Regions from separate parts of the Homo sapiens genome. Here region 2 is linked to region 1. The links are contacts of gene promoters, found by promoter capture Hi-C in blood cells and fetal thymus (Javierre and others, 2016). All regions are on one chromosome and are shown on one strand. The core of a region is centred on a gene start or on the middle of the fragment in contact, and the rest is flanking DNA. Distances in the headings are between cores, read along the strand shown. Region 1 holds the start of AKTIP (AKT interacting protein). Region 2 overlaps MMP2-AS1 (MMP2 antisense RNA 1).

Evidence for each region. The method cuts DNA at HindIII sites, captures the fragments that hold promoters and counts their contacts. A CHiCAGO score of 5 or more calls a contact.
Region 2: a fragment that was not itself captured here is called in contact with the fragment with the promoter of AKTIP in region 1 in 4 of 17 cell types (M0 macrophages, M1 macrophages, M2 macrophages and 1 more); the score reaches 13.6 in M0 macrophages.

The regions. Positions count from the first base shown.
Region 1 is chr16:53,500,116-53,507,300 of GRCh38, forward strand. It overlaps AKTIP (AKT interacting protein), which reads right to left and starts at 3,094. Exons shown (of 10, transcript NM_022476.4): 1 at 3,032-3,094; 2 at 103-214. The coding sequence starts at 144. LOC124903690 (a long non-coding RNA gene) reads left to right here and starts at 4,265. Exons shown (of 2, transcript XR_007065069.1): 1 at 4,265-4,305; 2 at 4,626-5,863. RefSeq lists enhancers at 2,290-2,791, 2,792-3,291, 3,752-3,851 and silencers at 2,562-2,861, 3,122-3,191, 3,212-3,451, 4,172-4,261. The HindIII fragment of the contact is 2,307 bases long and covers 1,253-3,559 here.
Region 2 is chr16:55,442,220-55,449,404 of GRCh38, forward strand. MMP2-AS1 (MMP2 antisense RNA 1) reads right to left here. Exons shown (of 7, transcript NR_147198.1): 3 at 4,645-4,729; 4 at 1,894-2,002. Among named protein-coding and RNA genes, the nearest start is that of MMP2-AS1, 16 kb to the right of the region's middle. The HindIII fragment of the contact is 522 bases long and covers 2,241-2,762 here.

The sequences.
Region 1 (7,185 bases), core at 1,844-4,343:
ATTACAGGTGACCGTGACAGATTATTTTAGCCTTCATTCTGACCCTATTTTCAGACACAGAAGCAAATGGGTTTTCTTACTGAATTTATCAACTATACCTACTTTGCGTACAGAGCTTGTAGACATGCTCCAGAAAGGGTTCATAACGTGTATTCCAAACAAAGAAAGTCAGTGGTGTATCATCCAAATCTTCTGTCTTCGGCATTCACTTTACCTTAAAACAAGACGGGAAGACATAGAAACATGCCAACACCAACCATTAAGACTTTTTTTTTTTTTTAAGATGGAGTCTCACTCTGTTGCCCAGGCTGGAGTGCAGTGGTGTGATCTCGGCTCACTGCAACCTCCACCTCCTGGGTTCAAGCGATTCTCCTGCCTCAGCCTCCTGAGTAGCTGGGATTACAGGTGCCTGCCACCATGCCCAGCTAAGTTTTGTATCTTTAGTAGAGACAGGGTTTCACCATGTTGGCCAGGCTGGTCTCGAACTCCTGACCTCAAGTGATCCACCTGCCTCAGCCTCCCAAAGTGCTGGGATTACGGGCATGAGCCACCACGCCCGGCCAACAGTTAAGACTTCTGAAATGATGAATAACTAATTATGACACCCTGGATATACAATATAATGTTATATAACAAGGGGTTATAAAAACCTAGGAAAAGGTCTTCAGGCATCTTCAGAAATAGTTTCCTTCTATACCCACCTCCTTTTCTGGTTCTAATTTCTTTCACACTTAGATGTCTATAAGAATCTGTGCACCAGGTCCCTTGGCCAGGATTCAGATTACTCAGTGACACAGATGAGCTTTGGTGCCAGAAATTCAGAAGATACGGACAACAGTTGTTACTAGCACATCTCGGCATTTAACTAACAGGAAAGCCAGACTCAGAATGCACTGTACCCACATACACATAAGTTGTATCACTGTTCCCAGGGTTATGGGAACAAACAATAGATACAAGGAGGCTGATTTAAGCGCTGCCTCAACTCACCTGAGTACAAAATGATTCCTCCAGCAAAGTATTAGCCAAAGAAATAAGAGAAAACAGGAAGGCACAGCACAAGTATGTCACTAAGACGACAAAAGTAGTTACCTGAGTCCTGTCAGTACCATCCCCCAATAAACTGCCTTCTACAACTTCGAAACATATAGAAACTGCAGGATCATGTACTTAAGGAACTGCCAAGCAATCCAGACAAATGCAACACAGGCACGCAAGAGAGACATTTCACAAGTACAGATCTTCCAGCCGAAGCTTCAAGTCGTGGATAAGAAAGCATGTCTCAAAGGTCATAAAGTCAGTGGGTCATTTACTAAAAATACAAAGAAGCAAAGGAAAAGCAGCCAAGCCCAGCTGTAAGAACAGCAACTTCCCTGCCCTGGTATTTCCCCCCAGGCTCTGTTACCTTTAAAGCAGAGCTCCTTCTCTGAATTCCTACTTGCACCAATCAAACGGCTGAAGGTGAAAAGGGTCAAAACTAAGCAACGTTTTCCTAATTTCTTAAACAGATCATGAGCAAACCATGTACTAAATGTCCCCAATCAGCAATAATTTGTCTTCTCTGACGAGCTTGTGACATCCAGGGACGTACCCAACCCAGGTCATCCATACCTTGCCAGTGCCCATTACTGCTGTTTTGTTTTCCAAGAGAAAATGCCACCCAGTAATTAAATCAGAGGAATGAAGATCCTGGCTCTTCTACTAGCATGGATAACATGCAATAAGTAACAACAGTTCTCCGCAAATCTGCCTTTAAAGGTGAGTATGACACACTGAATATACTTGAGATATCAAAAATGTGCGGGGGCATGTTCCCCTTTGGCTCAAATGAAGACACTGATTTTCAGATCTAGCAGTAATGTGCAGCACCCCAGTGTCCTCTAGGACACACCTAACACGGGACCGGATCCCTTGGGACACAGTGGTGTGCTCCACAACATACATTTAATGGGCTGGTGCAAACCTGTAAAGTCTCTTAAAGGTCTAACGCGTTAGGATTCTCTTTAAGAATCCAGTAAATTTTGTCCCCAGTTCTGCCTGTCATTAAGCAGGAGGTATTGTCTTCTGCTGCCTAACTTTGCTATGGATCTTTTAATCCAATGTTTCCAGCAGCAACATAATCACGAGAAACTGTAGCACACTTTTCAGGGTCTAGTCTAGGACAAGCACAGCATACATGTTCTGAGAGGAATGACATAGATGGAAGCAAGACATGTTACATCCTTGTCACTTGGAAACAATTTTAGAATTTCTGCCTGTTTGGCCACGGCTGCATTCCTTTACATCACCCAGCTGAGAAGTCTGGGTCTTCAGCCTGCGCGAATGACAGTGCGTGGCAGAGCTAAAACTAGGCTAAAACATGAGTGCTGCTGTTACTCTACATGCCACAGCGCACTCACATCACCCCGAATCGGACTTAAGAAATTACACGTTAAGAGGAGACAGAGCAGGGGCCAGAAAAAAAAAGATGAAAACGGCCCGGGCCAGGCTCGCTGGGGACAGCCGGGACCCGCGGCGGCCTCGGACCGGCACCCTCACCGCGGGCGGAAACCCGTCTCTGAGCACTCAGGGAATCTGGACAAACCTGTCTCGAGGTGATGCAAGGCGGGGGCCCTGTCCTGGCCTCGCAGCTAGCTCGATGCTGGCCCGGGAGCCGCGGGCCCCTCCAGTGGGGGGGCTCTGGGGCCCGGCGACGCCCCCTTAACCAGAGCTCGGGGTCGGGACCCGGCCGGGGAGGGCGGGCACGGGCCGGGGCGAGCCAGCTGGGCCCCCCTCTCCCTCGGGCCGGGCCAGCCCAGCTCCAGCCGCAGTCCCCAGCAGCAGTCCCGGGCTGCGAGGCGGCCAGCGCAGCAGGTGCCTGCAAACGCGCACAGGTGCCCGGCCCCGCCTCCGTGTCCCACTGCGGCCGCCGTCGCCGAGTCGCGAGCGCCTAGAAAGATGGACAAATGCCGGGCCCGTGGAGGCTGGCGGCCAGATTTACAGACACCTCAGCCCTCGCGTACCCACCAGCCTGCCGGGCAGTAAGCCTCACCCCAGTGCCTTCAATGCAGAGCTCCTGGCTGCCAAGCGCCGCCGCGGCCCGACAGCATCTCCCGCCGCAGCGCCAGCCCTGCCCCTGCTTGATCCCCGCCCCGCCCCACCCCGCCCTGCCCTGCCCTGCCCTGCCCTCGGCAGCGGGCTCCGCCCCCTGCTGCACGATCCTGGGGCCCGAGGCTTCCGCCTGGCCTCCCGGCGCCAACTGGCTCTCACACCTGCCCGTCAAAGACGTTCTTCCGGGGGCGTTGGGAAGAACACACTCGGTCCTGCAAATCAAATCACCCCGGTTTGGGTGGGACTGCACTTGACCCTCCCCTTACGTAACAGCGCCTGGGACGGCCTGTCAGTCATGGAAGTATCGGCCCCCCGGGGAGGGATGGGGCAGAGACAAACAAGCGCCGGGTCACAATTGGCCAGGGCGTCTGCCAGTCACCACGGAGACCTTCCCGGAGGTTTATTCGCACAGCCCACAGCGCAACCGCCATGCGCAGGGGCTGGGGCATACGCTAACGTCTGCAAGCCAAGCTTTTGGGGAGGGCCGGGCCGCGCGACTGCCCAGTGGCTCCCATCGCTAGGTCCTACTGCGTTGGGCGGCGCTGCGAGGCCCGAGGCCGCCACGTCGGGCCCACAGGGTACCAGGGGTCAGAAGGACACTTGGCGTGGCATCAAGAAACGCCCGTTCTCTCCATCAGTGCAGGAGCTGAAGGCTGGAGCTGAAGGGAGCTCAGCTCCAAGTGGGCCCTGGGCACTAGAGCAGCCAGAGGAGCTTTGTAAATCTGTGTGTGTCGGCCCCGACCTGCAGCATCCGAGTGGGGGCCGGGGGCTGGGGGGAGGGGGGAGGCTGAGGACCAGGAATCCACATCTGTCACAGTTCGCTGCTGATTCTGGCGCACACTGAAGTTGGAGAACCTCTCCCATAGCAACATAGTTCCTGGTCTTTTTTTTTTTTTTTTTTTTTAATTCACACGCTCTCATTTGGACCTCCCGTCTGCTTTCCCATGGAGGTCTCTCTCTGGCCTAATTCTGTGACTGCTGCCAGCTGCTTTCCAGGCCTGTTCTTACCAACGGTGCCTCCCCGTGGTTAGTCCGTCCAATCTCGGCACTCCACTTCCACACTTGCGCGACAGCCCTCTCCCCGCAAGCCCCTGCCCCTTTTCTAGACACCAGAGGCACTGACCTGTCTGTGACACCGCCTCAGTGTCTTACACTCAGAAGCCGCATTCTCTGGCCGGGTTGTTTGGTCCATTTTTGGTTGCCTCTGAGATTCTGGTAAGTGACTTATTAAAGGGCAGGAAGCCAAATTCTCCTGATGTTAATCCCAAGGGTTGGTTCTGAAACCCAGCTTCCTCCCCTAGCTGAAAACACTTCTGAGCCACTTCCTTTTGTCCCCTTAGGACACATTTAGGAATGTTATCATGCCTTTTAATACGAGTCTTAATACAGAAAGGCAGGCAAGCAGGAAATCCTTTTTTCAGGCCACAGGTGGTCTCCTTTGGCACCTCTGTGGCCCATTTCCTCCCAATCTTCTTTGAAGCTCATTATCCTCTGCAAAGCTTTTTTTCTGCTTTCCTCCTTTCCCCAACCTTCAGTTTTCACCGAGGACCCACATAGGTATTTCTCCAGCTCACATCTATCCACTGAGCTTCCAATGCATGTCATCAACTGCGTACTTGGCACCGGATGACTCAGACGCACACCAGCATCAGACTGCACATGGCAGGAAAGCCAACTCAAACCGGCTTACTTAGCAAGGGGATTTCTCTCCCATGGGAGGATTGTCTCCAGAGGTGGTGCCCTGGTCTTCAGGCTCTGCTTTCCTTGCAGTCCCTGGAATTGCACTTTCAGGCTGGTAGCAAGATGGCCGCGGCACACCCAGGATCTCACAAAATTAAAAGTATCCCTTTCTTCCAGTGGTCCCTTTTGAAATACATGACTACCTTTCCCAGAAGCTCCGCAGAAGAAATGCCTGCAGGTTTCAATGGCCAGAAGTAAGTCTCTGGCCACAACGAAACCCAGTCAACGGCAAGTGGAAGGAGTCCGCCATGATCGACTTGGGCTGAGATTTTCCCTAGATCTCTGCCTGGACTTTAGGCAGAGGAGAGCCATGATCAGATTTGTATTTTGAAAACATCACTTTGTGCGGAAAACAGATTGTAGGGGCACAAGGCTCACGGGGCAGTTGAGGAACCATGGCAGTAGTTCAGGCAACAGAGAATCGCATGAATTTGAAGGTAGAGATGGAGAATTGAATGAGTTCCAGAGATGTTTAAGACGGGATGATATAGTTTGGATATGGTTTGACCCTTCCAAACCTCATATTGAAATGTGACCCCCAATGTTGAAAGTGGGGCCTGGTGGGAGTATTTGGGTCATGGAGGCTGATCCCTCATGAAAGGCTTGGTGCTGTCCTGGCAGTAGTGAGTTCTTGGCAGTAGTGAGTGAGTTCTATTAGTTCCCGAGAGAATTGATTGTCAAAAAGAGCCTGTCACCTTCTCCTCCCCTGACCACTGCTCTCTCTCTTGCCAAATGATTCCTGCTGGCCTCTCCCTCTGCCATGAATGGAAGCTTCCTGAGGTCCTCACCAGAAGATGCTGGTGCCATGCTTCTTATACTTAGTTGCCTCTGTCTTTCATTTGACATATATTTATTGCATGCTTAATGACATCTAGGCTTTAAATGCTGGGGAGGCGTTGGAGAACAAAACAGACATTGTTCCTCCTCATGGAGCTACGGGAGATAGATGCTAATCAAGTCATCTCCCAAATCAATGGCTAATTGCCCCAAGGAAGTGGACAATGAGCTGAATAAACCTCTTTTTAAAAATAAATGACCCAGCCTCAGGTATTCCTTTATAGCAACACTGATGGATTCATACAGGTGGGGTGGACAGAGCTTGGCCATGGACTAGGTATGGGGGATGAAGAGGCAGATATGGCTGACACCTAGATTTTTAGCATGAGCTACAGGATGGATGGTGAGGCCATTCACTGAGGTGACAAACAGTGAACCACAAGCAGGTTTGGGACAGTGGGAAATGGGAAAATCTGGGTTGTGTTTTGGGTAGGTATGTTTGGGGTGTTTCTGTAAGCACTATTGCCTGTATACCTAATACCCACTTCTCCCTTTTTCATTGCTGACAGAACCTCCATTTTCTTGAGGAATTTAAGCCCTTCAGTGGTTCCCCATTGGGCAAAGACCAAACTCCTCACCATGGCTGTGTCCCAGCCCCAGGTGGCTGCAGACTCCAGCCACTCTGACATTCTTCCAGTTCCTTGGAAGGGAGTTGCTCCCCTACCTGCCCTGCCACAAAAGGGGCCTTCGCAGTGAACGTTCCCTTTGCCCAGTTCATTCTCTTCAATCCCCTACACAGATCTCAGCTCTAACACTACTTCCTTGGGGGCAATTTGCTGTTGATTTGGGAGATTATTAGTGTCTGTCTCCCACACTGTAAGCTCCTGAGGAGGAACCATTTTTTTGCTTTCTATTGTCTCCCCGGCACCCAAGAGCTAGATGTTGTAGGCATGCAATAAATATTTGCCAAATGAAGGACAGAAGAAACAAAAGTACATTTGAAACACCTACCTGCACGCCCACAGGTCTGCACCAAGAAAGCAACTCATTATGAAAATCAGGATGATTTATTCAAAGGGAAATGAGGAGGTGGCCTCAAGGTACCATTTCTTTAAGACTAAAACATAAAGTGCTGAGAAAAATCTCAATGGACCCAAAACCTTACCTATAAAACATTTTAAATCGCTTCATATTACATTTCCTATTCTCAATTTTTGAAGCATATTTGATATATTTGCACCAAAAGGTTCTTTTTGCATCCAGACTTAATAGATATGTGATCTCTGAGTATTCAGGACTTCTGCTCATGTTCTAATCAGCAAAATATTCCCTGAATCATACATCTTTTGGACTCCGGAAAAGTAACTGTACAAAGCTGTTTAGATCACTGACTTAACTATTAAAGGCCTTCACAGAAAGAAGGAAAGGATAAAATGTTGAAGGTTGTTAAAATACATATGTTTCATACACAGGCACACATATAAGCCGATGTTTTTAGCGCAATCCATTTGCCCCCAAGTCCTTTTCTGAAAAGTAGATTCCTGTATACATGTCACTGATTACATATACTGTTCAAAA
Region 2 (7,185 bases), core at 1,252-3,751, 1.9 Mb after region 1:
TAATTTTACTGGACCTTTTCTATATTTACATATGTAAATGCTTACCACGGTGTTACAATTACCTACAGTATTCAGTGTGATACATGCTATACCGGTTTGTAGCCTAGGAGCAAAAGGCTATTCCATATAGCTTATACCATCTAGGTGTGTGTAAGTACACTGTATGAGGTTGGCACAATGATGAAATAGCCTCTCAGAACACATCCCCATCCGTCACCAACACATGACTGTAAAATTCAACATCCAATCATTTGACTGATTTAGTTTAGAAGATCAGAATCTAAAGAAATTTTTTTTAAACTTCTGGAAAAACAGGGGTTAAAATTCTGGCACTTTTCTTCAAACATCAATATTTGTGACTTATTAATTACCAATGGATGATCACCAAACGAGGAAGGATCTTCCCATCAGAGTCTAATTAGTTTCATTGTCTTTTTTTTTTTCTGGATTCCATTGTATTTCACTCTACCCTTCGGCTGCCTGTTTTAATTAATGTTGCACTACATTCAAAGGTTTTGCTTTTGTGCCTCTCTGTTTGATTTAAATTCCTTTTTGCAAATAAATAAATAAATAAATAACTATCAAAGCTAATGAGGCTCTGAAGATTTGAGATGTAAATATCATATGCAGATTCTTTTTTGGTCCCAGCTCAGCGGAAGACCAAAAATAACACTTGAAAGTTTGATTAAGAAATCTCAGGCTCCCCATCTCATGCCTCCCTCCAGACAATCTTTCTGCTGGCATTTTCAGTTATTTGACAAAAAAAAAAAATCAAGCCCCCCAAACCCAAAACCTCAAGAGCAAGCTCCTTTCAAGACTGGCTCAGATGGGCATGGTATTGTGCTGAGCTGCTATTTAAGATCCAGCCCGGACTGACTGATTCCTGTCTGTCCTGAGAGATCTGTGCATGTCAATGCATCCACTCACCACACACACACACACACACACACCTTCATATGCATCCACAGACACACAAAATTATTTTCACACACAAACTCATCCATATTCATACACGCATACCCTCATGCCCACTCACCAATGAAAACTCGAAACACACATATTTCCACACATGCAAACTCATCCATGTTCATACACACATACCTTCATATACACTCACCAACACAAACTCACAACACACATTTTCACACATGCAAACTCATCCATATTCATACACACATACCCTCATACACACTCACCAATAAAAACTTGCAACACAGACATTTTCACACATGCAAACTCACCCATATTCATACACACATACCCTCATACACAGTCACCAACACAAACTCACAACACACACATTTTCACACTCATACGTGCGCGAACTCACACACTGATATACACATACTCACCCACATGTAAGTAGACTCATACACATTCCTGCATGCATTCACACACAGTTTCCATATGCACACACATTCTCCCACACACCTGACACATACATCATGCTTTCGCAGATCAAGTTTCCAGTTTCACATCTGTGTCACCTCCAGTACATTTTCGTACACACCCTCAAAAGACATCTCTGCAAGAAATTCCAAGACTCCCCACCCCCTTCCTGGCCCACCATCGTCCTTTTGGGTGTATTCAGGGGCAGCCTGGGGCACAGTTATTAAACTGTATCCCAAAGAGCTCTTCCACTATGCAATCTGCTTTTGCCTGAGATCTCTGTATCCTTTACTGAGAAAGTCTGATTCATTTCCCAGAAATTTTTATCTGCTATTAATCTTTCAGGATATAGTTAGTGTTGTGATATATTCAGATATTGTTTTTGGGTGGCAGGGGGAGGGGAGGGCAGATTTCAAGTGGCCGTCCCCTGGCAGTTTCAGAGATTACTCAGTGCTTATAAGCAGCTCAGAACTGTGTGACAGCATTTCCAAGCAAGGGACTTACAATCATGTTTCATTAATTCGACGTGAATGAAGCCTCATTTCTGGCCTTGAGGAGCTTAAGATGTATGTGAAATTAATAACAGAACAGATGTCTTCACAATTTGGTTCCTCTGGAAAAAAAAAAAAAAAAGGAACCTGATTACTTTGAAAATTTCAATGCTTTAAAATGCAGACCCAGGGAGTTTTTACTCCAGGGTAAAGAGTTATGCCTTGATATCGTCCACGTCTCATAACTAAGTGGAATTTAAATGTCAGGTTTATATTAAATAGTCATATTCCCCATCATGACATATAATAAACAACAGCTTATTACTTTCATTAATAAGATGTGTTGGACATTTAAACTAAAGCTTTGGAGATAAAGCCTGTACCTCCTGAGCAGGAGGTGCTGGGGAGACACAGGGGACACGTCGGGGAATATTCAGGCAGCCTGGTTTTTAGCTTTCTGATAATTTAATCATTGATTCCTCATAGGAAAACAAAATGCATCTGTGCTCACACAGAACTCACCACTTTATAAAGAAGTTGAGCCGTCTCCCACGGATGTGTGTGCCGGAGGCCGAATGTTGTGTTTCACAGGACACTTGAAGTCCTGCCTCTTTATTATTTCTTCCTGCCTGAAATCTTGTTTCTTTATCTAGGCTTCTGTGACACTAAGTGCCCCTCAAGCTGAATTTTAACTACTCCTCAGGGCGCAAGTGTGACTGCACACCAGGGGGGCTGGGTTTTTATTTCTGAAAGTCCAAAGGGGAACAGTGTAATGGAAAAATTACCCAAAGGGAAGTTATTCTGGAGGAGCAGGAAGAGAGAGCAAAGGCCCCCAGGCACATGGCCAGGAGTTCCCCTTGCCCTGGGTAGACAAGTGAATGAAGCTTTCAGGGGAAAGCAGTGCTAAATGGGGAAGCCCAGGGTTCACGTTAGGTCTCAGAATCTGGTCTACTGTAATGACCATAACAACCACTGTAATGACCCTTCTCTCTTTCCAGGGCCACTACGTGTCCTTGAAACTGTCAACTTCCCCACTTTCCCCCATGGAGAAAACAAGAGCATTAGACCAAATGACCTGCCAGCTTCTCACTTTGACATTCTCCATATCCTCTAAATTTGGCTTCCATGACATTTATTTTACTATGTCTACCTACTCCTCTCCACCTCCTTCCTCTCACAACTGGACTGGGTGTGGGGTGCCATGGTACAGTCACCTCTGCTGATTGCCCCAGATACAAAGGTCAAAAGAAGCTCGCAGGGCAGGAGGTCTTCTCTGGTCCCAGCTCTCCCTAGGGATGTGGCCTGGGGTAAGATGCATGCTGTGGGTGCCAGGCGTGGTGGCTCAAGATGCATGGTGTGGGCACCGGGCGTGGTGGCTCGTGACTATAGTCCCAGCACTTTGAGAGGCCAAGGTGGGAAGATTGCATGGAGTTTGAGACCAGCCTGGGCAACATAGTGAGACTCTGTCTCCACAAACAAAAAGAAGGCAGGCATAGTGGCACATAGCTGTAGTCCCAGCTACCTGGGAGGCTGAGCTGGGAGAATCGCTTGATCCCAAGAGGTCGAGGTTGCAGTGAGCTGTGATTGTGCCACTGCACTCTAGTCTAGGTGACAAAGCAAGAGCCTATTTCAAAAAAAGAAAAAAAAAAGATACACGGTGTGTTTGACCCTCGGATTTTTTATGTGAAAAGGGGTGGAATGACCCTCACCCAGGACTGTCATGAGAATGATATGAGCTGGTGCACATGCGTTTGGTACAGAGCATAGAAGCATAAAAGCTCCTGTTAGTGTTCACAGCTAGGGATCTCAAGCAATGTGCAGGAGAGAGGTATCCCGGGGTGACTGCACTTTTAGAAACTCCCTGGGCACTGGTGTTGAAGGAGCATTGTCTAAGTCTTCCTTATTCTTGACTGATATGGGGGCTGTGTGTGCACAGCAGTAGAGACCCGGGTCAGGATGCGGAAGGCGGGCCCCATCCAAGGGAGTGGGGGCAGCTCAGTGTCAGGCACTTATCACCCTGGGTGTGTATCCCAGTGGCGCTACGTAGCAATGCCAGGCCTTCTCCCTCTTCAGGGAAACCAGGAATGTGGAATTTTATGTGAAAGCTTCTAAGTTTTGAGTAGAGATCACTACAAGTCTGCACGCCATTCCTTGAAACCACTGGGGTCAGTGGTATTTCAGTATTTAAATTTTCAGATTTAAAAATATTATACAATGAGATCACCATTTATAACGTGACATCTCCAAGGGGGGTCTGGGAAAACATGTCACAGCCAAGCCCATTAATAATTTGGCATCAAAATAATTATACTCATGAAGAGTGGTGAGACATGGGACTCAACACTTTCTCTCCTTGTGGGGACCAGGCCAAGCCCCCACCACACTGGCAGAGTCAAGGCGACTGTGGCTGAGGCCTTGTGACCCAGTTTCCTGCAGCCAGCCCCACTCACTCCCAGGAGAATCATAGAAGCCATAAAGCTTTGGGATTCCTGAACTGAAAAGGCCATGACAACCACTGTGTAAACCCCATAAACACTGCATAAGGTCACCACACAGCTCCAAGTGACAGAATCCCAAGCCAAATAGGCTTAAATGAAGAACAGCAATAGCAATCAAGTTTATTAGGTTATAGGAGAGAAAAGTACAGAGGTGTCTGTTCAGGATCACCTGGATCCAGGTGCTCCAACAATGGCCCCTGGAGTCAGTTTTTATCTCTCTGCTCCACGTTTGGCTGTGTTGCTTCCTTACTCACACAGATACTTACCTCATGGTAGCAAAAAGGCTGCCAGAAGCTCCAGCTCCACATATTTCTGGGATTGGTCCCCTGGGAAACAGCATCTGTTCTGTCCCTAGAACAAAAGCCATGGGTTATCGCTAGGGCTCTGAAGGGGTCCTTTGCCCATCCTGGAGCCAATCACAGCAGTCTAGGTTCCCCGCCGGCCTGGAACTAAGGATAGGTTCCTTCTGGCCCATTCTACCCAGAGTTCAGAGCCAGAGAAACTGAATGGAGGCCTGGGTGGGGGCAAAACCGTAGGTGTCTATTACCAGGGTGACTCAGGAAACCCTTTCATTTCAGCAGAGCAGACAATGAAACTAAGAGAGGAGGTGAGATTTGGCCAGAGTCACACAGCAGGGTCACTGGCAAAGTCAAGGTTGTGACCCCGACATCTCACGGTTTGGAAATCCCTGCATTGTACCACATGTGATTAGTGGAGCCTGCTTGGAAGCCTTCCCCCATTTCCTATGTCTCCTCTCCCCCCGAGGGGGAAGAGATGAGGAAAACCAATATGCTAACAAGCACACGCCCCCATGAGCGTGCACGCGCGCGCATGCGCACACGCACACACAAGCACATAAGCCTTATGAGCAAAAAGATCACAGCACTCTATTAGCAAGCTTGTGCCAGAGTAACCACAATTTATCTTTTCTTCTCTTATACATCCCTCATCTCTGGAGAGGTCTCTACTGAGTCCAGCACAGAGTTAGCACCCAATAAATGTCGCCATTATTATTGTTGTAATTATTATTTCTCATACTATGAATTACTCTCTTCCACACTCTCCTTGGCCTAATCTGTTAATTTACCTTGAGGTGCAAATGATTAAGCAGAGTGAGTATGAATGGCCAAGCAGAAGGACCAAGGGAGTTGGCATTTTTAATAAGAGCCAGAGCCTGAATTCAGCAAAAGGCATAAAACCCTCATAATTATTAACGTGCATAGCTCTTTCCAGTTTGCAGACTGGTTTCTCATTCACCTCATTTGATTTTTAAAAAACAAAAAACAAAACCGGAAAACAACCCTGTGAGTGAGATTAGAAGGGAATCATCTCCAACCACAGATAAGAAAGCCAAGCACTCCCGAAAAAACATTTAGCTAAGGTTTTCCAGGTTTTCCTGGGAGATCTGGGATAGAACTGGAGTCCTAGTTTAGAAGCATTTTACTAAATGTACATGTGTATGCATGCATGCACATAAGCATCCACACACACTCATACTGTTAGAAATACAGGCCTGGAGTGGTGACTCATGCCTGTAATCCCAGCACTTTGGGAGGCCAAGGTAGGAGGATCACTTGAGGCTAGGAGTTCAAAACCAGCCTGGGAAGAATAGCAAGACCTTGTCTCTACTAAAAATAAAAATAATTAGCTGGGCGTGGTGGCGCACATCTAGAGTTCCAGCTACTTGGGAGGCTGAGGTGGGAGGATCACTTGAGTCCAGGAGCTGGAAGCTGCAATGAGCCGTGATTGCACCATTGCACTCCAACCTGGGCAACAGGGCATCCATGTCTCAAAAAGAAAAGAAGAAAAGAAGGGAAAAGAAAAAAGAAAAGAAGAAAAGAAGGGAAAAGAAAAAAGAAAAGAAAGAAAGAAAGGAAAAAGAAAGAGAGAAAGAAATGAAAGAAAGAAAGGAAGGAAGGAAGGAAAGAGAAAAAAAGAAAGAAAGAAAATAAAAGAAGGAAGGAAAGAAAGAAAGAAAGAAAAAAAGAAGGAAAGAAAAGAAAGAAGGAAGGAAGGACAGAAAGAAAGAAAGAAAGAAAGAAAGAAAGAAAGAAAGAAAGAAAGAAAGAAAGAAAGAAAGGAGGGAGGGAGGGAGGGAAGGAAGGAAAAGAAAGAAAGAAAAAAAGGAAGGAAGGAGGGAGGGAGGGAGGGAGGAAGGAAGGAAGGAAGGAAAGAAGGAAGGAAGGAAGGAAGGAGAGATATTGCAATACAAATAAACAATGTATTTAAAAGCTCACCAAGTCATGAACACTCATAGGGCCTTACTTACATTACCCATGCCCTGATTTAACTTTGCATAACAGTATTAAAAGCTCCTTGGGCCACAGCAAGGCCACCACATTGACCTCTTTTCCTACCTCCCACTTTTATTTATCTCAATTATGATGAAGACTCTTTTCCCTTTGCTAACAAGAACTCTATTCAATTCAATGAACATTTACTGATCTCCTAGAAGGTAATTAGTATCTCCATTTTACTGACAAGGAAACAGAGATTCAGAAAGAGTTTAAGTAACATGTCTAAAGTTGTACAGCTAGACCTAACCATTTCCTCCTGTCGTCGTCTGGCCCAGGTGACCTGTCATTTGATTCTACCCAATTTCTCTCTTTCTGAAACCAGGAAGCATGGGTGTTCAGGTCCTAATCATGAAAAAAGTGGGAAGAAAGTGGTTTTTCCTGGCCTCCACTTCAGGCCAAGTCAGGTGCATTCATTCACTTGACAATATTTACTGAGTTCCTACTATGTGTTAGTTCTCTTAGCCTTGAGGTTTTGAAGGGTTTGCAGGGTAGAAGAGAAAAGAGAGAGAA